Linked DNA regions of Homo sapiens: region 1 is linked to region 2. Evidence: promoter capture Hi-C in 16 types of primary human blood cells and fetal thymus (Javierre and others, 2016). All regions are on one chromosome and are shown on one strand. Each heading gives the region's core, a stretch centred on a gene start or on the middle of the fragment in contact. The rest is flanking DNA. Distances are from core to core; before and after follow the strand shown. Region 1 has its middle 60 kb from the start of POU2AF1. Region 2 holds the start of COLCA1 (colorectal cancer associated 1).

What was found. Contacts are between HindIII fragments. The CHiCAGO score rates a contact against its expected background, and 5 or more counts as called.
Region 1: a fragment that was not itself captured here is called in contact with the fragment with the promoter of COLCA1 in region 2 in 4 of 17 cell types (activated CD4 T cells, non-activated CD4 T cells, total CD4 T cells and 1 more); the score reaches 6.8 in activated CD4 T cells.

What each region holds. Positions count from the first base shown.
Region 1 is chr11:111,436,986-111,441,824 of GRCh38, forward strand. It overlaps a transcript of BTG4 not described here. Among named protein-coding and RNA genes, the nearest start is that of POU2AF1, 60 kb to the left of the region's middle. RefSeq lists silencers at 2,265-2,314, 2,335-2,404 and enhancers at 2,313-2,899, 3,736-4,839. The HindIII fragment of the contact is 450 bases long and covers 3,265-3,714 here.
Region 2 is chr11:111,302,161-111,306,844 of GRCh38, forward strand. COLCA1 (colorectal cancer associated 1) reads right to left here and starts at 2,888. Exons shown (of 2, transcript NR_169237.1): 1 at 2,668-2,888. It overlaps POU2AF3 (POU class 2 homeobox associating factor 3), which reads left to right. Exons shown (of 5, transcript NM_001271458.2): 3 at 2,768-2,822; 4 at 4,234-4,463. The HindIII fragment of the contact is 13,879 bases long and covers 1-4,684 here.

The DNA of each region.
Region 1 (4,839 bases), core at 2,240-4,739, 140 kb after region 2:
CAAAAGCCTAGCAGGTGAACAGCCCTGTCTGCGGAGACTTTTATCCAACCCAAGTCGCAGACAATATCTTTATAAAATTCCTTTCAACTCCCTCATCATCTGGAACTCTTCCTGCCTGGCTCCCAACCTGCTGCAGCCCCCAGCAGCCCCCACCCTCAGAAGAACATCTGCTCCTCTGACAGGGCACAGGACACGGTGTTCCAAAGAGCAATTTTTTCTTTGGCTTCCATCCACTACACCCCCTCAGAGCCCAGAGACCCCCTGCTCCCAGAAGCTTCCTGCAAAACGGGAGGAGTGTATTGATCTGTGGAATGGAGGAGATCATTCTCCTCCTCCAGTGCTCAGAACTCCTCAGCAAAAATGACCCTCAGTTTTTACCACCCCTGAAAAACCCCAGATGAGTCCAGGGACTCCTGCCAGGAACTGGGTTGGGGGATGAGGGGGATGCTGGAAAGGGATGGAGTTTCTCAATTTCTAAAGCTATTGTTTCTCATTCCCAAATCACCATGCTCCAATCTGGGCCCAAGAGCTGTGCTCAACTTGAGGACTGGTGTGGCTCCCTCTGCAAGAAGGTTAGGCCAATGCCAGTGAACCAGCCACTGAAGGCTGGAGGGGCCGGAGAGCCTCTGAGCATCCTCACCGCCTTGCCTGAGGCTAGAGCTACAACAGCGAGTGCCTAGACCCCCACCTGTATCCCCATTGCATCCCCACCACTACCCAGCAGCTCAGGAGCAGGCTCTTCCCTCCACTCCTAGGCGACACTCTGCAGTTTCCATCCTGGGGTCTCTTACTTGCTTCTGCTACTCTGCCCAGTTTCTCGTGTTGATAGCTTAGCTACTCAGCCTTCCTGGGTTTTCTTTTCAGCCCTGGTCATATCTTTAATGATCTCTATCCTCAACATGTCTAATAGCCCAAGGACCAAGCTCATTCCACTCTCATCCTCAACCCAGATCTGCAGGACCCCAGCCAGGCCCATAGCCCCCCAAGCAGAGGGGAACTGACAGCTATGACTCTGACTATACTAGACAACATTCTACACCCACCAGGAAGTAGAGCCTTGGAGATGTCCAAGCTGACCCTGTTATTAAGGGCTGAGAAGCAGTTGTAGATGCTGCTTAAAGGAAGAGGGGAAGGGGGCTGCCAGGGCAGCCACAGAGGCATCAACAGACGGGACACAGAGGTCTCTGGTGTCACCCTGATGGCAGTTCTGCAAGTGCTGACACGGGGTCCCAGAGTCCCTAGACCTAACTTTGTGGGTTAGACATCTGACTCCAATTTGTGTGGGCCAAATTCTAGCCTGGAACTTGGGCCCCAATATGCACAATCTGTCTTCCCCACAGCCCCTGAGACACCATGTGAGCCAGGGCACACAGCCAGCCTGCACCCTGCCCTTCTCAACAGGAATTCCTTGGCTCATGCAGCCTCCACCTCTGGCCTGACTCTGTTCTTTCTCTGTGAAACCTTCCTCGACCCCTTCAGTTAGCCTCTGTCCAAAGCCAGGCACTCTCATGGGCCATTTCCCCCAGCGCTTACCAAATGTTGCCAGGTATTTTAGTTATCTGGGTAAACATCTTCTCTGTAAACTCCTCAACAACAGAGACATTTTATTCATCTCCATTCTCACCCACCACCGCCAGCACCTAGCTCTGCACCTTGCCAAGAGTAAACATTAAACATTTTCTGGATCAATAAACTCAGGATAATCCTCCCAAGTCCTTATTCTGAATGGCCACAGGAAAACCAAAACATTTCCTCATCTCCTTGGTGACCCCATACATTACCCTAAGCTTCAAAAGAGAGGATGCTAAAGAAGGCGTGATGTGGTCAGGGGGTCCCTGGATATGTGAACCTCCCCCGTCCTAACTGGACACTGTCTTAGGTTTCCATTTATACCTTCCCGGTGGCACCTCTGTCCCTGCTGTCCTATCCATCCACCAGAAATCTCTGGCCAACACATTAAACATATTTTCAAATCCCCAATTCCCTGAACTTAAGGGAAAGCAGGCTGCCCCGGCCTGGGTACTGGGTGTTACCTGACTAGCACGTGGGCTGCCCCCTGTCCCGCACACCCACCCGCTGGGCAGCTAAGCCTCTGCGGTTGGGACCCCAGGGAGGCTTCCTGGTGATTTGCATATAATCACACAATGCCAGGCACAACAAAGCCACTCAAACAGCAGAGCCTTCTCAGCTGAGTTTAAAGTTTAATCTCCTTAATACAAAAGTTTCTGCTTTGCTTTTGATGGGTTCTGGAACTCTTGCTGATGATGCTAAACAAATAGTCACCCTTTCTCCCCCTCTGGAGGCTTTGCCCAGCGCATTGTGGCAGCACAGGCCCCAGTTGTTGTGGTTTACGGGCCAGACCTGCACCTGCACTGTTTGTGTGAGCTCATCTGGATGCCCAGAAGGGCTCTTTAAAGAGAGCCCAGCACAGCCGCAGATGGAGCAGGAGAAGACACCAGCCCAAGGACTGCTACAACCCTTGGCCAGACACCAGCTCAAGGCTGCCTGTACTCTCGGTGCCCCCCACCGCCCTCTACTTCCCTTACAGAAACATTCATCCCCAAGTCCTCCTCCCAGAACCCAGCTCCCTCCTATGTGTCTCTCAGGACCTTCCTCTTCCAGATGCCGTCCAGCCCCCTCGTACTTCCCCTCCCAGACTCACACCCCCTCTCAGTTTCTGCACACTTTGCCTCATCATCTGGAGGCCATTCCTAGGTCAGTTTTCCTATTTACTTCAGCACTTCACCTATAGGAGTCATAGAGCCATCCCAAGCAAAGAGCCTCTAGAAGACCCTTTCAAAGACATGCTCAGCACTTTACGTTTTGGCTCCAGCTCCTCCGCCCGGTCATTTTGAGAATGAGCCATGATCCTCCATCTCTCATATTGATGCGGGAATTGGAAGTTGGTCATTGAACTGGTGGCCTGAATAGGGGTGCCCCAGCCATCTTGGTTATCTGTTTTTGTGTAGCAAACAATCTCAAAACTTAGCAGCCTAAGACAACGGTTGTTTTATTTTATCTCACAGTGCTGTAGTTCAGAAACCTGTTCAGGGCTCAGCTGGGTAAGTCTGCTCTGTTGGCATTGGCTGGGGTTACTCTGTGATCTGGGATCTAAGATGGTTTCATTTTCATGGCTGGTGACTTAGTGAGTATGGCTAAAAGGCTTGGCTCAGCTGGGACTGTTGAGCAAAGGGCCTGCACATGGCCTCTCCAGCCTAGCAGATCAAGGCTCCCAGAGAGAGTGTCCCAAAAGAACTCTGCAGAAGCTTCAAGCCTTCACATGACCTAGGCTCTAAAATCCCAGAATCTCACTTCTGCTACATTCTATTAGTCAAGCAGATTCAAAAGAAAAGAAATTGCAACATCTTTAATCTGTCACACCAGCTAAAGAGGTCTTTTCAGAAGCCACCAGCCCCTGTAACTAGTTCAGAGACAGAGTTTCCTGGTCCCAATGTCTAAATAACCTATCCTTGCAAATAGAACATCACAGTTACCAGCCTGCATGTACTAGGAGCTGACATCCTTTCCATTCTTTCCCCAGAGACTCAAACCAACATCCTACCCCTGGGCGGTGTCCCCATTTGACCCCGTTTGGCCTGCCTCTTACCTACCTTGGCTGTTGGCAGGAACTTTGGTTTTTCTCAGTTGCTGCCAGACCTAGATCTGCCCTTTTCAGATTTTTGTTCACAGATAGCTTTAGATGGGAGATAAGGAAGCTTGAGTCAGGTCAGTGCTGAGGCGAAGATGCTGCCCCAAGACAGGGGGAATGCCCCAGACTTGTCCCATCCAGCCCTTGCAGAATGGCACCAGCAACAAGCACCTGCTGTAGAGAAGGGTTGTCACTATGTTGCAGCTCTGAGACTCTACAGAAGTCAGAGGTGGGTCATGGAGATGAGGGGACAAGGAGAGTGAGGAGGGGATAGGTGACTATCTGCCACACCACTTAGGTACTGAGTCACATCAACATGTATGCAATACCTGGTCAGACAGGCACCCGCAGACCCATCTGGCCCAGACCAGCTGCACTTTCCCAGGCTTAGGCTGGGAGTGGCAGTCATCTGGCAGAGTCTTGGTTCCTGGAGTGAGGGCACAAGGTCACACAGGCCAGGGCCAGAGACCGCTCTCTTTTCTTTTTTTTTTTTTTCACAAATACATTTCAAATGTTATTATGAAATATGCAAGCCATACAAAAAGGAATGAAGAATACAATAATAAACACCCATGTACCCACAACCTAACTTAAGAAATAAAATATTAGCAAAGAAAATCTCATAATGTAATATCTCAGGGCTCTGGGGAGTAGGGGAGAGAACAGGGTCTGCTCATGTTCCCACAGGAAGGAAGGAGTATTGAGAAGGAAGAGAGAAGCAAACTAGAGCATCAGCAGCGGCTCCTCCGAGAGAGAGATGGCTCCTTGAGCACCAGAGTCAAGGGAGATTTTATGGGCTTGGGAACAGACCACAGAGAATACACCACCCTTCTTCTTTCAACTCTCAGCTCAGAGACTTCCCAGATCCCACAGTCTGAATTAGTCATGAGTTCCTTAGAGATGCCTTACGGATTGACTTCTCTGTCCTTGTCTGCTCTTGGGCTGTTTATAATATATCCATGCCTCTCCCACGCCTGACTATAAACTCCGTGACTGTGCCTCGCTTTTGATCTCATGAAGTTCTTGTACAGGGTAAGAACTCCTTGTTATTGACTTGAATGTGTGACTAATCCTGGGAAACCCCCATGGTTGACGGGCAGGGGACAGAAGCATTAACAGAAAGGGAAAAGCAAAGCGAGTTGGGCCGGGCATGGTGGCTCACGCCTGTAATCCCAGCACCTTGAGAGGCT
Region 2 (4,684 bases), core at 1,638-4,137:
GAAGTTGCTCATGGCAACGCTAAAAGTAGGACTAAGGTCTTTTTCTTAGTGTAATATAAAAACCCTTCTGTTGGCTCTTTATGCTCTAAATTCATCATTCTGCAGATCTGACGATACTAAGCAGGAGTCTGATAGCCTCAACCCCTTCAGTTCAGAGATGGTTATATAATTAACAAAACCAGGTACAAGGGAACTGGAAAATGCTTCTGGAGAAAAACATCATCAAGACTTTCATAATAAAATGTAACGTTTCCTTAAGGAGCTTTGGTACTTGCTACAGTTCTGCTCAGCTGCACCTGGAGAGCCCCATGTGAGTGTGGCACTTCTGTTGCTGCTGGGCCCTTACAGATGGGTGTGGCCACTGTTCCCTTCTTAGCTCGCTACAGGAGCTAATGTGAGGGTAACACACTTCACTTGTGTATCTGACCAGTTTCTGTTCCCCGGAGTAGTTTGACTTATTTAAATTTTTCTGAATTCCCTCCTGAGAAATAAAGCAGGACTTCTGAACCAGTGTCTTATAGGAACAGGCAGAGTAAAGCCTGCTCTACTTTGCTTCCCTTAAGACTGCATCAGCCTATGCCCTCGCAAGCAAGCAGGTTTAACACGCATATAATTTAATTACAAAAGCCAGACGTAAAATCCCTCACTGGAAGCCATCGGATGGATCTGGGATTCTAAAGAAGCTGTGAGAGCGTACTTAGTAGGCAAGGGTAGCAGACACCAGGGGATGATGTTGCCTGCTTCTTAGTGTAGACCTTTCTGGTATAACAGAGATGATCCCCAGTTTGTTCATTTGTTGAAGGATGCCTCTGGGAAACTTTAAGCCAAGGAGAGGGTTAATTATATCAAATACTACAAAGTGGCAAGAAATCTATCTTAATTTGTTATAAAGTCAGTGTAGTATCCACAATTTAAAATTTTAAGAAGGCAATCACGAATGGAAGTTATAGGTTGAGACAGACATTCAGTAAAGAATTCAAATATTCTTCAAGCAGTGCCGGAAGAAACTGTGTGTATGCCGGATTGGAACACTCGATTTTAAAAAACTTATTTCAGCCAGATCAATTTGCAAACATGCGCATGCACGCACACACACAGACACACACACACTTGCCTTTGGGGTAAAAGGAAACTTGAGTTAGTCGTTATCAAAAGATATCATTTACCTTTCTTTTTTTAAATCATTAATTTTTTAAACAGCCTTGATGTGTTTTTATAAATTGTAGACTGTGAATTTTTGTGCTGTTTGAAATCTAAGAGAGAGTTGCCTTTCTTTGTATTCTTGGAGCAAAGTAGAAAGTGAACCCATGACTAGAAAGATAATATCAAGTAGGATATTGTAAACACACCTCAGGGAGATAACATGGGGTGGAGGCAGACAAACAGGCCAATCCGGGGGAGGAATGGAGTTAAGGAAAGCTCTACAATGAGGCAGATTTTTTAATACCCACTCCTTCCAAGTCCTTCAGCTCAAGCTGCAGCCAAATATTTGCATAAAGAGCTGGTAAAGGATTCCAGCTTCCTGGTTCATGACATTACAGCATGGATCGTTTTCAAAATTAATACTGCCTCCTGTTTCAGCAGTGGCTGCCTGCACAGCTCTCCCTGTGGCTCAGAGTATGGGAGTGAGTATGCCCTGTAACCCAAAAGAGGTGTGGTGAGCTCGGCTTCCCAGCACAGAATCACAGAGCAATACGGGTACCTTTAAACTTTAAAGCCACACCTGAAATTTAAAAAAAAAAAAAAAATCCTAAATTACTCAGTATAATTATTAATTCAACTGAAAAATGCAGGCTGCTTTACTTTGAATAGTTAAAAAGAGCAGTCTCATAAACTTTTAAGTATTTAAATACAGTAGTTTAAATAAAAGCAACTTTTATAGATAGTAGTACAAAACATACAAAGTACTGGAATAATTCCCGACCATTAACTAGAATGAAAGTAGGTTCCAACTCACCAACCACAGCTTTAAGAAAATATTTTCTATTTTAATATTTCATGTATACTAAGAACATGTGAATATTTTTAGCTACTCAGAATTAACAAAATTAAGAATTGTGTTCTTTGGGGAAACGACTCCCTAAGGCTAAGTAGCCAGATGGTATATGAAATTTTTGAGAAAAATAATTGACTAAGCCATAGATAGTTGAGATTAAATAAATGTTAGTCCTTAATAATTTTAAATCGAATAGTTTAATAGGAAGCCTTTTGCTGCATTTTCTCAAACTGTTACATTTTTACCACATAAAATTATTTACATTAATTTTTTACTAAAAATTAATCACTTTTAAAATTTAAGTAGAAGAATCTGATATTAGGAAAAAAACTCCCCAAGCAAGCAAACATAAATATTGGATCTAGATAAAACATAATATTGGTTGTATTTAAGAAGTCTGTTTTATGATTCGATTTCAGGTTTTCATTGTTCCAATGCAATTTTCCAGATTGAATCTTAAAAGGATTATAAACGTCAAAAGGCATTTTAAATTCTACACGGACTTAATACACCTACCGCAATTCTATGCACCTGTCTTTCAAATTCTATAAAATATTTGTTGACACTTTCCCTTTCACTTGTTTTTTACAATATATTTTGTACAAAAATTTGTCAAACATTGAAAAAAAAAAAGAAAGCAACTTTTTCTGAGAAGGAAGAATCTGGCTTACCTTATAGCAGAAAGAAACATAGTCCTCATCAAAATGTCTTAGCTTTCCCTTCAGAGCATTTCTTTCAGCCTGCTTCACGGTGATATTCTTGCTTTGACAGCGGTCCGGAGGCAGCAGTGTCCACCTTTCAGACCCAGTTGCACCATCTTCTGCAGGTCAGTACAGCCAGCATTAACAGTTCCCTCAAACACTCTTTCAAAAGTCCATCTCAAAAGTCTTTCAGTCTTGATTCAGGGGTTAAGATAGGCACCACCATTTAATTGGAATCCAACCAATCAGAAGGTGAAAAAGGCATAGTCACTCCACATGCAAGCCCAGCAAGAAAACAAGCATAAATGTTGTCTTCATTTCTGAATTCTCTACTCTCTGCTATATTGTCTCAAGAGTTTGTTCTTCACATTTATTCCAGTTCCTCATCGCCAAGTAACTAAACTGAACTACAAAATCAGAATTGTTCTCAGGAACTTATCTTTTTTTAGTGCACTGTTAGATGGAATACAGAACATCCCAAGACACTCAAATAATGCCTTTGCTCTGTTCCTTTAGTTTCCAGCCGACAGGGGCTTCCCTCCCCTTCTCTGTTCCCAGAAAGCAGTTCAAACAAGTGTAGGTTTTCTCAGCCCAATAAGAATAACTCGATTACATAAACACTCCTACCTCTGCTACTCAACAGCTAAGAGTTTAAGGAGGTCGTATATAAGGAAACCTCTGCCTATGGCCTCTCCCCACTAAATGTGTCACCGTAGCTTCACCTTAAAGGAACTTGAGACCTCAAGAAGAACACAGTGTCCTTTAGTCCCTTTGATGAGCACACTCTAATCCTCTCTTCTTCCAGCATTTACAGATAATTATCACAAATTGGGCCTATTAATAATAAAATGGAAAAGGAGTAATGTTTACTGATTATCTTTGTTTGATGTTTAACAACTTACTTTGATCACATCATGATGTTAACATGTTCACTGAGAAAACATTTTTGCTTTTTGTACTTCCGAGCCAATAGTGTTAATTGGTACTCTATGTTCCTGGTTTCCATGATTATCATTTGCATTCTCATTTAAATCACTTCTCAAAATTCTCTCCTCCAAACTTAAGTTACTGAGTAAGAGTGAAAAGTTCAAAAAAGCAATCACCATAAGTCAAAAGAATTATTTCCCGTAGCATCAGAAGTTTTCTCAAAGCCTCAACAACTTTGTCAGTTACTTCTGAGAGGTTTACGTGAACTGCCGGTAGGGGCTGGATGTCCATGGTTTTACAGCCCAAGAAAGGGGAAGTTTGAGCCATTATTTGACTGTGACACTTGGACACAAATTGGGTCACCATCCTTTTATTTTTGCCCTAACCAGTTTTACAGCCAGTTTCCACATTATTAACCATGTTCATTTCCCTGGAGCTTGAATTAGCTAGGACAACTAAAGAGTCAAAATTGCATTCCCGTTTACTTTTCTGGATTTGTTAAGCCCCCTTTCCCCCTAGACATAGTAAATATTCAGAGTATAGATCTCCATTCAAATCTGTGTTTTGCAATTTTTATGCAAAAACCTGCCTTTTTCCTTTCTCCTCTAGGACTGTATTTTGAGCCTGAACCAATTTCTTCCACGCCCAATTATTTGCAACGGGGAGAATTTTCCAGTTGTGTTTCATGTGAAGAAAACTCAAGCTGCCTCGACCAGATCTTTGATTCCTACCTTCAGACAGAGATGCACCCGGAGCCTTTGCTCAATTCCACACAAAGTGCTCCACACCATTTCCCAGACAGCTTCCAGGCCACCCCTTTCTGCTTTAACCAGAGCCTGGTAATTTTTCTCAGTTCTTTATATACCTGATTGTGTCTAACTATGGGGTAATAGTGCTTTGTGAGTTTGCACCATCCCGTGGGAAATCATACAAAAACTATCAGCAAGGAAATCATCCAAGGAAACAAGCAGAGAAGAATTTAAAAGTCAATGTATAGAAGTAGCCACACACTGCAGGGCATAAACCTTTGGATACACACGTAATTTAGATTTCCCAAGAT